2 separate regions of the Homo sapiens genome follow, and region 2 is linked to region 1. Evidence: promoter capture Hi-C in human tissues and cell types (Jung and others, 2019). All regions are on one chromosome and are shown on one strand. The core of a region is centred on a gene start or on the middle of the fragment in contact, and the rest is flanking DNA. Distances in the headings are between cores, read along the strand shown. Region 1 holds the start of GJA3 (gap junction protein alpha 3). Region 2 overlaps CRYL1 (crystallin lambda 1).

Region 1 (7,347 bases), core at 31-2,530:
GCCTTTAGGAGCTTAGTTTTTCCTCCTTGGGATAACTTTAAATTCAGATCTCAGCAGAACAAACGCATTTTTCAGGGCAAGCCAACTGCTAATCCGAGTAGATCTAAACGCTAACGAAGGCAGCCGACGGAAGCTGCTCCATGAAGACACGAAAACTATCAGACTTGCATTTTGCCACATTCCTGGAATAAACTTATTACTCATAAAGGTGATTTTGAAGCCATTTCAGCTTGTGGAATGATCACCGAAATGCAGTCCACCGATATTTGTTAATATCCCAGGCTGGTCAAACCCCACTCCAGACCTTGGGGGACGGGGAGGGGACCCGCGGCCTCTCTAGGCTGTGCCCAGACAGCAGACAAGGACGCGATGCCGCCCTCGGTCCGCGGCCTTCCGCGGTAGGCGTCCCTCTCAAGCGTGGTAAAACCACCCCGAAGGGAACAGAAAACGTTAAAATCTTCGTTGGGCGCCAGCAGGCAGGTTAGGCCTCGCCCTGGCATCTCGTCTCCAGGACCAGATGGAGCGAGTGACCCGCGGGGACACCTTCCCGGTCACCTCGAGCGCAATAAAACAAGTTCTTTTTTTAAAAATAAGCATCCGTGTGCCTGCCGGCTAAATTAAGTGTGTCTGAAGAGAAGCAGGATGGCGGCCGCTATTTATAACCTCCCGCCCCGCCCGGGCGCCACTCCTCGACAGCACCCACGCTGTGCCCGGCGGCGCTTCCGCGGGGACTTCCTGCTCGGTGGTCCCCGCCCCGCCCCGCGCCAGCCGTCCGGAACCCGCGTCCCCAGGCGGCTGCAGGCGGGCGAGACCTAGGTGCCCGACGCCCACGCGCCTCCGACCGTGGGAGCGCCCGGAGAGCAGCTACCTCGCCGGGCCTGCGAAGCCCAGGACAGGCGCGAGCGGGGCGCGGGCTGGCGCATCTGCGTGCGGTGGGCGCCCCGCAAGCGGGTCGGGCCCGCCCCAACAGCCCTCGGCTCTCCTCTCACGTCCCGCGCGGGCATGCCCCGGAGTGCGTAGGCGGCAGGGAAGAGCCCCCGCGTCCACATCCCCAGGGCCCGCGCAGGTGCGGGATGGGGATGCAGGCGCTAGGCATGGACGTGCGCGCGGGGTAGGGTGTGGAATGCGGACGCGGGCGAGTGCTGTGGCTGCGCGTACAGGGTAGGGATGCGGGGGCGGTAGGTGTGCGTGCTGGGAAGCGCGCGGGGCGGGGCTGTTCGGAGGCGGCGGGGGCGTGGCGCGGCGTCCTGAGCTGCAGCTTGGGGGCGTCGGGCGCAGCGCACACTGGGGCTGCAGGGATGGCGATCAGGGCGGGGAGGTCGGGCCCTGGCGCGGGGCGCACGCGTGAAGCAGCACCGCACGTGTGAAAGGAATTCTTTTCAGAGCGGCCGGGAGCCCTGCTCCGGAGGAACGCACCCGGGTCGCCGCCGCGGCAGAGCGGGGTAAGGCGGGCCGGGCGCCCCGGAGGCCAGGCACAGGGGCCGAGGGCAGCGCGGGGCGGGGACGGGCGGGTCGGCGGCGCAGCGGAGCTGCCGGGCGAGCCCAGCGGGCTGAGACTGCCGAGCTGGGAAGCCGAGCCCCGGCACGTGTGCGGCTCCCAGCCCCCTAGGATTCTTTCAGGATTCTTCAAAAAGTTGTGGGGAGCTCGGGAAATTTGTGAGAAACTTTTGGAATAATTGATCTTCCTCCTTTGCTCCTGGAGGTCTGGAGAGCAGCGCCTCGTTTGGCTTCCCTTGATGGACAGTCCAAGGCCGAGTTTAAGTTGTTTTCCTGGGGTTGTTTTCCCCCTCGGGTGGAGGAAGCCGGGCTGTCCCGGACCGTCAGGCTGTAGGGCTCCTAGCGATGCTGAAATGCTTGAAAACTCTAAGCAGATGTCACCGCGCCAGCTAACGGCGCGCACCCAGCCGTCCACGGGCATTCAGCATCGCCGTGCTCCTAAAAGTCCTGTTGGGATTGTTTAGAAACAAGGTTGGCTCGCCTACATTTTTTTCAGAAACTTTTTAAAACTTTTTATTTTTAAGAAACACTGTAGCTATTAATGCCACGACCAGATTTCTCGACCTGTATGTTTGTTATGATGTGTTCAACTATAAGGAATTTGCAGAGGAGTGGAAAAGCACTGTCCGAGCCCCTTCCCGTAGGAGACTTGAGAAAACAAACGGCAGTGACGCGGCTGCATTTGCTTTGTTGCCGACTCCACACTAGTGAGCAAAATTCATCCTACCATGTAGAGTTCTCGGTTCGTGAATATGTGACTGCAACTTTAGAACTCCAGTTTTTATTTTATCAAGATGTCTCCAAAACATGCCATTTAAAAATGATTCTATACAAACAGCTGACAAGCGAATTATGGGTCTCATCACCCAGGAATTAAAAACCATGGTGATTTATGATGTGCGCATCACTTCACTGGCGGTCCATCCATGTGCAAGACAAACATTAAAAGATTAAAGAGGAAAAAAGAGGGATTTATTTTCCGAATATCAGTGTGTTCAAAGTAAACATCAGCTAGTTTGGCACAGATTCCACCTGCTCAGCAGTTTGGTTCATATCGAGATAAGCATCTCATAAGGGCAATGCATGTGTTGCTGTAGTGGAAAGTAATTCACGAAACGGTACTACTCTAACAAATCAGACAGTACTGTTTCTTAACCAGGAACCGTTAACTGGCTGAAAGCTGTCTTAAAAGAATGGCGGGTAACAAAATTTTTTGCCAATAAGGAAAATATTTTTGACCCAGTTTTCTTGAATGTTACTCACATTTTAACTTATTATATTCATTTCTCTTAGCTAAAATAACGTGTACACACTACATTTGAAACGAAAAATTACGTTTATCGCAGCCTTTTTTTTTTTTTTTTTTTTTTTTTTTTTTGAGATGGAGTCTCGCTCTGTCACCCAGGCTGGAGTGCAGTGGTGCGATCTCGGCTCACTGCAACCTCCCGAGTAGCTGGGACTACAGGCGTCTACCACCATGCCTTCTTCCTCCCTCCGCTGGATGGTAGCTATTCCCAGTACTATGTAGTACTTACATTTTGATCTGTTTTTTGCCACTCTGCCTCTCTCATAGATTGCAAATGAATCTCCTGAGAGTGAGGACTGGATCTTAATTGTTTTGCTGTCCTCAGTGTGTGGCACAGTGCCACACACAATAGGTAATAATGTTTTATAATAATAATAAATGTTTACTGAATTGAGGAGGGAAAAAATCCAATATATGTGACAACAGCATATATGTCTCTAAAAAACAGTATGTTTCTGCAATTTCTGTATAATGCTTAAAGGCAATAAAAATAATAAAGTTTCATCTTAATTTTCATTCCTACAGTGGTGGAAAATTCCTCATGATAACTAGGTTAGTACTCTACTGCTTGCTTTTTTTCTTTTTCTTTTTCTTTTTTTTTTTTTTTTTTTTTTTTGAGAGTTTTGCTCTTGTCCAGGCTGGAGTGCAATGGCACAGTGGCACAGTCTTGGCTCATTGCGACTTCTGCCTCCCAGTTAAAGCGATTCTCCTGCCTCAGCCTCCCTTGTAGCTGGGATTACAGGCATGCGCCACCACGCCTGGCTAATTTTTGTATTTTTAGTAGAGACACAGTTTCACCATGTTGGACAGGCTGGTCTCAAACTCCTGACCTCAGGTGATCCACCCACCTCAGCCTCCCAAAGTGCTGGAATTACAGGCGTGAGCCACCGCGCCCAGCCTACTGCTTGCTTTTTTAAAACTCCTGTACATCTCCAAAAGTAATGGTTGATGTGAATAGTTTCCACACTCTTATGTGTCTTATTTAATTTGAAGAATTGGTTTGCTTTAAATTTACTGTTAACAAACTAATGATACTAGATATAAAAATTAATTAGCTTTTTACATTTAGACCTCCTGATTATCTCCATGGATTATTGCTTATTTATTCCTGAAACTCCATTTCCTGTTGATTTTAAAATAAATCTTTTATTCTAGAACATAGAAGCAATTTCTGGTTACACAGCAATAGAAGTAGATTTGAGTAAGAAAAGTGAAATCATACTAATACTATAGAAATTATTTCTGCAAAAAAATAGAAAATATTTTGACAGATGTAATTTTTATCAGTAATATCAGTGGAATAATAAAATACCATAATTATCAGGTTGTGGGATTTTGTTCACTAAGCAAGAGTAAAAATATCTGAATTTACTTTAAAAAGATAATTCTGACTGGGTGTGGTGGCTCATGCATGTAATCCCAGCACTTTTTGGGAGGCTGAGGCAGGAGGATCTCTTGAGCCCAGGAGTTTGAGACCAGCCCAGGCAATATAGTGAGATACAGTCACTTCAAAATATTTTTTATAAAATTAGCCCAGTGTGGTGGTACAAACCTATAGTCCCAGCTACTCAGGAGGCTGAGGCAGGAGGATCATTTGAGCCCAAGAGATTGAGGCTGCAGTAAGCCATAAGTGTGACAGAAAAAAAAAAAAAGATAATTCAAATTTGTGATGAAGTAATTGGGCTGTCCTTAGCATATCAGTAATATTTAACCATTTTTATAAAAGATAAAAATACCCCCCTTGAGACAGTCTGGACTGGAAAAAAAAAGTGAAAGCTTAACATGTACTCCAGCCCACATTTCTAAACATATGTATTCCAGTATGTTAGAATATAATAAAATGCAAAAGGCATGTAATACATAGTGTCATAAGCTGAACAGTCTGCCTGCTGCATCGCCCATGAAGTGGTGTGGGAGGGGAAGGGAAGTTGGGCCAGGAGTTGGAGGTTGGGCACTTCTGTGCTGGTGTCAGCACTGTGGGCTGTGCAACTTTAGGCAAGTCTCAGGACCCTCTCTGAGCTGCCATTTCCCAGTTTGTAAAATAAGGAGCATAAACTAGACCACTTCTAAGGTTCATCCCTTGCCAAAATGCTAAGATTCCATATTTCTTCTGTCGATAATGAGTAAGGTTCCTGAAGGATGTCATTTGGATTTATATGAGGAAATTGCCTTTTAACTGACTGCACTGTGTTTATGAGGTCAGTGTTTGGTCATCTGTTCAGACATCATGACTTGTGTTTTAGACATGACAAAAGCCTGTTCTGATCGCTGCTATGCTGAAGCACCCCTGTAATTTTCTCTATTACTTACCCTTGCCCCAAGCCACCCCTCAGAAAGTGGGGTACTGCTAAGTTCAATTTTACCTTAAGGAAGTCACTTTTTTTCATTATTCAATTTTTAAAACTTTGAGGACTAAAACATTGAAGGAAATACATTAACACATCACTAAAATGTCTGAATAAATGTTTGGATAAGTAAATAATTTCAGTGGAATTCTTAAGTGGTTCACAGAAGTTATTAAAACTTACAATGCCCTTTAATAATTGGCAGAAGAAACCAGAGGGCTCCACTGGGAGATGGAGCTGGGAGGTCTCTGGAGGGTTGAAAGGAACCCCAGTGGGGCGTCTTGGCAGGCAGTTGTTTCTAATTACGCTGCAACTCTTTACATTTTCCTGTCAATTGAATTGAAACTAAACCAGCTGTTAATTTTCTAGCTTAATGTTAGAACTCCCTGTGGAAATGGTGCTTTAGTGCTGATTTCTAGAGGGAATATTTATTCAAGTATTTCAAGAAGAAAGACTGTAGATAAATAGTATATTTTAAATTTTGCCATTCTCGAGTATAAAATATTGAAGACAATTTTTTAAATTAACACAGCTGTTTTAATTACTTCCAGTTTAAAATTAGCTCTCACTATGGCCAGGCTTGGTGGCTCATGCCTATGATCCCAACACTTTGGGAGGCCAGGGTGCACAGATCACCTGAGGTCAGGAGTTCAAGACCAGCCTGGCCAACATGGTGAAACCAGAAATATTTTTGTATTTTCTACCAAAAATTGGGTAGGTGTGGTGACACACGCCTGTAATCCCAGCTACTTGGGAGGATGAGGCCCGAGAATTGCTTGAACCTGGGAGGCAGAGGTTGCAGTGAGCCAAGATCATGCCACTCCACTCCAGCCTGGGAGTGCAGTGAGATTCTGTCATAAAATAAAATAAAATAAAATAAAATGCCCTCACTAAGATTTTAAGTTATAAAAGGTAAAAAAAGATTAGTTCCTCCCTTTGACTAGAGATGAAAACTGTTCACCATATTTACTTTAGCCAAATAAAGATTTAAGAGCATATGACTTTTCAGGTATGCATAAAAGATTGAAATCCCCACATGAAAAAGAAAATAAAAGAAATAATAATAATACATAGATGGCAGACACTGTCGTACATGCTTTCCATACATTCTTATTTCATAAGTACATTTAAAATATAAAAATGTATAATCCTAGCAATGACTTAGAACTATTAAAGAAGTTGAAAATTAAATTTATAATATTCCTAAATCAGTTGGCTCTGGATGAGAGTAATGTTTCCTGCAACAGCATTAGATTATTGAAACATCAAGAATAGAACCCACATATCTCTGCATGTAAATTAGAAATGGAAACCCCTGGAACTATACAATAACCACATAACTTTGAGATCAAGGATACTCTTAAACTGTATATGTGTATTTTATAGTAATGCCAACAAATACTAAAATCTTCATTATCTATTGAAAAGATCTATAGGACTCCTATAGATTTATTCTATATATTATGAATATGGCATACAAAATAGGACAAGGGAGAAAATAAAATAACCTGTCATTTTTAAAAGCATGTCAAAGTTGGTTCATTAACAAAAGATAAACTAGCAAGACTAATATTTTAAATCCCCAAATAAACAATATTTGGAACCAAAGGAATTTGACTACAAACACCATAGCGTTTCAAAATCATAAGAAAATGCCATGAATAATTTTATGCCAACAAATTTGAAACATAAAGTGGAAAATTTTCTAAAAAATGTAAGTGACCAAATTTGACTTAGTAAACAGTAAACCTACGTATGTTAGTAACAGTTAATGAAATTAAATTTGTAATTAAGTCTTCCCTCCTACCCCCCTAAAAAAAAAGACATTAGTCCCAAACTCTTCTATAGGAGATTCTTATATGAGCTTATTCAGATAATTTTAAAATTTTCATGTTAAAATAACTTTCATACCAAAATCTGATGATAGGACAGAAAAGCTGAAACCAGTCTTAAATATGAACATATAAGAATCGAAAATAAAGTAGTAGCAAATTGAATGTGCTAGGATATTAAAAATAAAATCATTGATAGGCGTGGTGGCTCACACTTGTAATCCCAGCACTTTGGGAGTCTGAGGCAGGAGGATGGCTTGAGGCCAGGAGTTTGAGACCAACCCTGGCAATATAGTGAGACCCCATCTTCACAAAATAAAAATGAAAATAAAAATTAATCGGCTGTGGTGGTGTGTGCCTGTAGTCT
Region 2 (7,319 bases), core at 2,853-5,352, 260 kb before region 1:
TGTCCCTTCGCTCAGCTGGCCTCTGTCTTCTGCGCCTTCTGAAGTCTGGGTGGTCAGTGTGTCTGTGGGAGTAAGTGCCTTACCAGAGGGTACTGGAGAGCTCTCTTGGCTCTGACTATTCCAGCTCCTAGTCCCTGGGAGGTTTGCTGAAGACCATCCTAGCTCCACTGTGCCTGTCCTCTTCCTCAGCTCCTTTCCAACAGAGTCCACATGCTGCTTCTCAGTCCAGCCACTCAGCAGCACCTCTGTTGGGACTGCAGGGTCGTTAGAGCGGATACATCACCCACGTTGCTAGGACCAGCCTCCTGGTTAATTGAGACCTGTGTTTTTGTTGGCTTCAAATGCAGAGAGCTCTGTAAGAATGATCTTCTGCCAGAAGCAATGAGAGAGGTGATATTTTTCATCTACAGGGAAGTACTGAAAGATTATTTTGAGGAGCCCTAGAACTATATCAGAGCCCATTCCCGGCCGGGCGTGGTGGCTCACACCTGTAATCCCAGCACTTTCGGAATCCAAGGCAGGGGAATCACGAGGTCAGGAGTTCGAGACCAGTCTGGCCAACAAGGTGAAACCCCGTCTCTATTAAAAATACAGAAATTAGCCAGGTGTGGTGCTGTGCACCTGTAGTCCCAGCTACTTGGGAGGCTGAGGCAGGAGAATCACTTGAACCTGGGAGACAGAGGTTGCAGTGAGCCAAGATCACACCACTGCACTCCAGCCTGGGTGACAGAGCAAGACTCTGTCTCAAAAAAAAAAAAAAAAAAGAACCCACACCCCCACACCCATGAATCAGTGAGTACTCAGTGTCCACCGAGAGAGCCTCCAGTCAAATAGAGAGTAGAGTCTGGCCTTCCTCAACAAAACACTAGCAAACTGGATTCAATAGCACATTAAAATGATCCTATATTTAATAACATAATCAAGGGGAATTCATCACAGGGTGCAGAGATACTTTACCATAGGCAAATCTATAAATGTGATATGTCATGTTAACAGAATACAGGACAACCATATGATCATCTCAACAGATGCAGAAAAAGCACACGACAACATTCAGCATCATTTTATAATAAAACTCTCTTCAAATTAGATATAGAAGAAGTGTTCCTCAACACGATAAAGGTCATACGTGACACACCCACAGCAAATATACTCAATGGTGAAAAGTTGAAGGCTTTTCTTCTAAGATTAGGAACAAGACAAGGGTGCCTACTCTCACCACTTCTATCCAACGTAGTATGGAAGTCCTAGCCATAGCAATTAGGCAAGAGAAAGAAATAAAAGGTATTCAAATTGGAAATGAAGTTAAATTGTCACTGTTTGCTGGCAACATGATCTCATATATAGAAAACCCTAAAATTCTGTTGGAACTGATAAATAAATTCAGTAAAGTTGCAGGATACAAAGTCAACATACAAAGGTCGGTAGCATTTCTATACACTAACAAGGAACTACGTGAAAAAGAAATCAAGAAAACAATTCCATTTACAATAGCTGCCCCCAAAATGCTTAGAAATACATTTAATCAAGAAAGTGAAATATCTGTACACTGACAACTATAATTACACTGATGAAAAAACTGAAGAAGACACAAATAAATGGAAGGACATTCTGTGTTCATGGATTGGAATGATTAATATTGTTAAAATGTCCATACTGCCCAAGGTGATCTACAGATTCAGTGCAATCCCTATCAAACTTCCAGTGGCATTTTTCACAGAGTAGCGTGGCCCTTTGTTTGGAAAGACTGTAGATACCACTCGAGATGGGTTAGGATGCACATGACAAACTGTTGGAATGTGGGGCTCTTCCAAAAGGAGAGCAGGAGTGCAAGACTTTTCCAGAAAGGCTGGTGGCTTTGGCAGAGAAATGGCATCTAAGCATATTTGTAAAGCTTTCTCCTCCTCTATGTTAGAGTCAGAAGCTGCATGCCACCCGTGTGCAGAGCCAAGTCCAGCTCAGCTTTCCCACAGGTTTGCTTACACTTGCTGGGCGACCCCAGCCTGGCTGGAGGTGCAAGGGAGCACGTTTGTACCTTGTAATGATTTCTCTCTAGAGTAGTGCAGATGTTCGCAGGGATAATGTCAACTGCCACAGCAACTGGAATTCTATCTGCAAACTTTTATTTGCTGTGTTGGAATCATTAGTTAATTAGGACTTTTTTTTTTTTTTTTGGAAATGGAATTTCACTCTGTGGCCCAGGTTGGAGTGCAATGGCGTGATCTCGGCTCATGGCAATCTCCATCTCCCAGGTTCAAAGGCTTCTCCTGCCTCAGCCTCCCAAGTGGGTGGGACTACAGGCGCATGCCACCATGCCTGGCTAATTTTTTGTATTTTTAGTAGAGATGGGGTTTCTCCATGTTGGCCAAGCTGGTCTTGAACTCCTGACCTCAAATGATCGGCCTGCCTTGGCCTCCCAAAGTGCTAGGATTACAGGTGTGAGCCACCGCGCCTGGCCTTAATTAGGATTTTTTTTCTAGCAGCAATTTTCCATAAGAAGTAGACTATTTTTATACCATTATTTATTATTTTGTGGGTGGCCATTTTCTGAGTAGTCATATTGGTGAGCAACAAAACCCTATTGAAAAGAGAGATACTGCTGATTTATGAATTTAGAGATACCTGTATCCCCATTAATAAGCAAATAAATAACATCAACCACATACTCATTAAAAATCCCCAAAATGCTGCAAAGCTTCTATGTTAGTATTCTAACTCTAAAAATAAATAAATAAATAAATAAATAAATGAAAATGCTGTTACTATAACACCTTCTAGCAATCATTACCAATAGGTGCTTGAGCAGTGAATATAAATGATGGATTTCAGCTCCCTCAGTTTGAAGTTGGGAAGTTAACAGGCCAGGGGTAAGGGTCCCCAGAAGTAGAGGATGGGGGTAAGGAGCCCCCAAGAGAAAAGGCAAAGAGAAGAGAGGTGGGAGGTGACAAATGACACTGCATCCCTCTTCCCTTGTGGGAGCCAGCCTTTGTGCCTTCCATCAGCTGCAGGTAGAAGCCAGGTGAGAGGCCACTGGAGCCCTATGGGCCATCAAGGCAGGAAGCATCTCTGGGTAAAGATGTGGGGAGTAGGCAGATATGGGGCTTGTGCTCCATGGCTGTTTTTGGAGTCAGGGCTTACACTCTTTGGTTCAAAACTTATTGTAGTAAACTGTATTCCCAGAGGACCCCTCAATTAAAGTATCACTACCCTCATAGAATGGAAGTGAATGTATTCACATTCATACACAATGATGGATTCTTTTTGCTGTTGTATTTGTTGTAAAAGTCGAGGCTTTCCCTTTCTTTCAAACTCTATAATACTGTTGTTTTTCCCCCTAAAAGCATCATTATACACACAGTGTTCTAAGAAAAAGTGCACCAGGGAATTAGCACTGGGGCCTGAAGTACTCTGGAATGTCCCTTTTATTAGGGCAAAGTCTTTCCTCTCTTTCCTTTCCATTTTTTTTTTTGTTTGTTTGTTTCTATTTAAAAGCTCTATTTTAGGCTGGGCGCAGTGGCTCACGCCTGTAATCCCAGGATTTTGGGAGGCCAAGGCGGACGGATCATGAGGTCAGGAGATCGAGACCATCCTGGCTAACACAATGAAATCCTGTTTCTACTAAAAATACAAAAAATTAGCCAGGCGTGGTGGCGGGCCTGTAGTCCCAGCTATTTGGGAGGCTGAGGCAGGAGAATCGCTTGAACCCAGGAGGCGGAGGTCGCAGTGAGTTGCGATCACGCCACTGCACTCCAGCCTGGGCGACAGAGTGAGACTCTGTCTCAAAACACACACACACACACACACACACACACACACACACACACACACACACAACCTCTATTTTAAAGAAAAGTCAAAGGGAAAAACTCCACCTGTGTTTGCTCTACCCTAAGTCAATTGCTTTCATTTTCCTTTGTTCCTGTCTAGTCTCTATTATGAACATGCTACTCAAGTTTTTATTCATTCTTAATGGCTTTATGATATTTCATTTAGCTGGTCTTTTTTTTTTTTCTTTTAAATCCAATCTTTCCCTTACTGCGGGATGTTTTAAGGTCAGGCCTCAGTGAGCCTCTATGCACATATGGTTTCTTCTTCTGGAGTCTTTTCTGGAATAATTCTGGGAGTGGGCTCAGCCTGCGGGAGAGTAACATTTTTATAACTTGATAGATGTAGCTGAGATGCCTCCCAGAGGGGAGACCCGCCTCTCCTCCGGCAGCTGTGCACGTAGGCTTGTTCCCAGCAGCCTGGCCAGGGTGGTCCACCTGGTGTTTCTCATCTTCTTTCCCCGGAGCGCTGACTCCTGCGCGTCCTCTTGGAAGACTCTTGACAGGACGGGTGTTTTATGGGTGTGATTCAGTGTCCTCTTGCATCAGTTCAATGTGGTGGTGTTCAATCAACCCTTGTAGCGTTAGCAAAATTTGCTCAAGTCATTCCGCAGGAATGTCTGTGTCTTGCTTCCAAGAAAGCTTGTAAGTGCCGGCAACAGGCCAAGCAGCTCACAAACCTGACCACAAGCCTGTGAGTAATTGTGGGGCAGCACTTAGCAGTCTTTTATTTTCGACTTATTAAAGTCTCATCTTGGCCTCACCTTCTCCCTGGAAGGTGGCGTGGGTGGGAACCACTGGGTCAGATCTTTTTCACCCTTGCCGTGGAGCCAGTTTCCTGTTGCATGTGGGGGAAGCAACATGTGGTGAAGAGTATAGAAAACGAAAACATGTGGGTACAGTATGTATAAGTGGAGGGAACAAACTCATAATTCCAACTAGTTTCTCATGAGAGACTCATGAATCATTGTGGTAGTTCTCAATATAAACTTAATCTAGGCCGGATGTGGTGGCTCACACCTGTAATCTCAGCACTCTGGGTGGATCACTTGAGGTCAGGAGTTTGAGACCAGTCTGACCAACATGGAGAAACCCCATCGCTACTAAAAATACAAAATTATCCAGATGTGGTGGCTCACACCTGTAATCCCAGCACTTTGGGAGGCTGAGGCGGGTGGATCACTTGAGGTCAGGAGTTTGAGACCAGCCTGACCAACATGGAGAAACTGTGTCTCTACTAAAAATACAAAATTAGCTGGGCGTGGTGACGCATGCCTGTAATCCCAGCTATTTGGAGGCCGAAGCAGGAGAATCGCTTGAACCTGGGAGGCAGAGGTTGCAGTGAGCCGAGATCCTGCCATTGCACTCCAGCCTGGACAACAAGAGCAAAACTCCATTTCAAAATAATAATAATAATAATAAACTTAATCTCTAACTCTGTTACTCCCTGTAGCATTTGCAAGGACCCTAGGGCTGGATGTTTCTCAGAGGGATAGTCTAGTACCCTAGCTCATGCTCGAGTTACTTCTGTGCAAGTGACTGTTCTTGTCTGGGTCTGTCCTTGAACATCTCTGGAGATGAGAAAATCACCGAGATTTAACTTTGTTCCATCCTTTCTTTCACTAGAGATTGAGATGGACGTGCTGGTGTAATCCTTTCTTCTTGGCCGCTGCCCTGGGGTGATCCACACAAGCCCAGTGCTTTCTTCATGTCGCCCTCGTAGGGCTGAAGGTGGCAGAGTACTCTACTTCTCGCTGTTGCGTTTCTTTATTTGACACTCACCTAAGATAAAACCTTTTGTGACTCCTGACTCTTAATTTTTCTCCTGTTTCTCAGTTGACAGTGGACTTATGCCCAAACTCTAGCTGAGGAGTGGAAGAACTTGAATAGAACCTCATCCAAATTCCTGGGTAGCAAGTCTGTGTTCCTGCTGGTGATAGTAGTAGTAAAGTTATTGTAGTGTTTGCACAAGAAAAATGTGAAAATTCAGGACCAAGTTTGGGGGAAAAGTAGAGCAAAACAAAATAGAAGATCAAAAGCTGGGAATTAGTAAAAAAGAAGTGGATGAGGAAGAATGGTATGAAGAAAAATGAGAAAAGCAAATGAAAATGAGGCCATGCAAAAAATACATGAATCAGAAAATTAAATCTAGGAATGGGATGATTATAGAGAAGGAAAGATGGTTCGGTGTAGCTGGTGATCAGTAGAGGAGATAGTCACGGAGGAGGATTTATCCATCAAATATCGTGTGCCTCCACCACACAAGTTTCTCTCCTGCCTTCCTCTTCTTCTGGGACTGTCCGAAGGACCAGAGTAAGTACCACAGCATCTGTTAACCCTTTGCTATTGTTAATTGTTAGATGTGTCTTGCTTCCTCTTCTCCCCATCCCCACCCCACAAACAAACAGAAGTGCTTGATCCAAGATCCCTGAGGGTATCTGTCCCCTGAGAGGGTCAGCTCGGCCAGGCTAGAGCGTCCAGTCACTCAGTCAAACTCAGTCTAGATGTTGCTGGGAAGGTATTTGGTACATAGTTGACTTTAAGTAAATGAGATTATTCTCCATAGTCTGGGTGGGCTAAATCCAGTCCATTGAAAGGCCTTGCAAGCAGAACTGAGATCTCCCTGAGGAAGGAGAAATTCCACCTGCAGACTGTGGGGTAGTTCCTGCCTGGAGTTGCCGGCCTGCCCTCCTGATGGCCTGTCCATGGCTTTCTGACTTGCCAGGCCCACAGTCACATGAGCCAATTCCTTGAAATAAATCTCTTGATGTATGTGTGTATGTGTGTGAATCTTACTGGCTTTGTCTGGTAGAACCCTGAGTGATACATCCCTAAACCTTTCATTCGACTTAACATTTGTTTCATAGCAGTTGGGTACGTTATTAACTATCTTGCATTTTCTCCTACTTCACGGATGTCTTGTGGCTCCTCTCAGCCTGGGCATTTTCTCCTACCAAATCAGGTGCAAAATATGTGCCCCAGCTATGCATGTGTTACTCCACTGTGGAAAAATCTCAGGTTTTAACTAAGGAAGCAGAAGCAAGGAGTTTTTCAATAAAAGGGGTTCCTTAACACTGTCTGGGATCTCTTTGCCCAATGATTTTCAGGACGCGAAACCATGTTTTGAACTAACAGTGATTGTAGTATTCATTGCTTTGTATGATTTTTAAATAATCTTTTCTTTGTATGTGTGACTTGAGAATTTTACCTTAAAATGGAGTAAGTACTGATTGCTAAACTGATCAATGTTAACAGAACCACAGAAGGGCTGGACTCAGGTAGGGTTCCCATCTCCGCACAGCTGTGTTGCCCGTCACCTATTATAAGGAATCGCTTGTCAGTTCCCTGTTTCAACACAAGCACTTGTTTCTGCCTGTCATGCTGCTGCGATTATTTATCAATGACAAATGATTATTTGTCATTGTTATGATAATATTAGGCCACAGATGTCACAAGGCTTTGGGTGGAATTAAGCTCAGTGGCAAAATTAAGCAA

What was found. Contacts are between HindIII fragments. The study calls those that stand out against the background at their distance.
Region 2: a fragment that was not itself captured here is called in contact with the fragment with the promoter of GJA3 in region 1 in 1 of the 25 tissues and cell types used here (IMR-90 fibroblasts).

What each region holds. Positions count from the first base shown.
Region 1 is chr13:20,154,985-20,162,331 of GRCh38, reverse strand. GJA3 (gap junction protein alpha 3) reads left to right here and starts at 1,280. Exons shown (of 2, transcript NM_021954.4): 1 at 1,280-1,442. RefSeq lists silencers at 630-989, 1,220-1,299, 1,460-1,549. The HindIII fragment of the contact is 27,118 bases long and covers 1-6,920 here.
Region 2 is chr13:20,417,216-20,424,534 of GRCh38, reverse strand. All of the region lies in intron 5 of CRYL1 (crystallin lambda 1), which reads left to right. Among named protein-coding and RNA genes, the nearest start is that of MIR4499, 13 kb to the left of the region's middle. RefSeq lists an enhancer at 4,309-5,508. The HindIII fragment of the contact is 3,613 bases long and covers 2,296-5,908 here.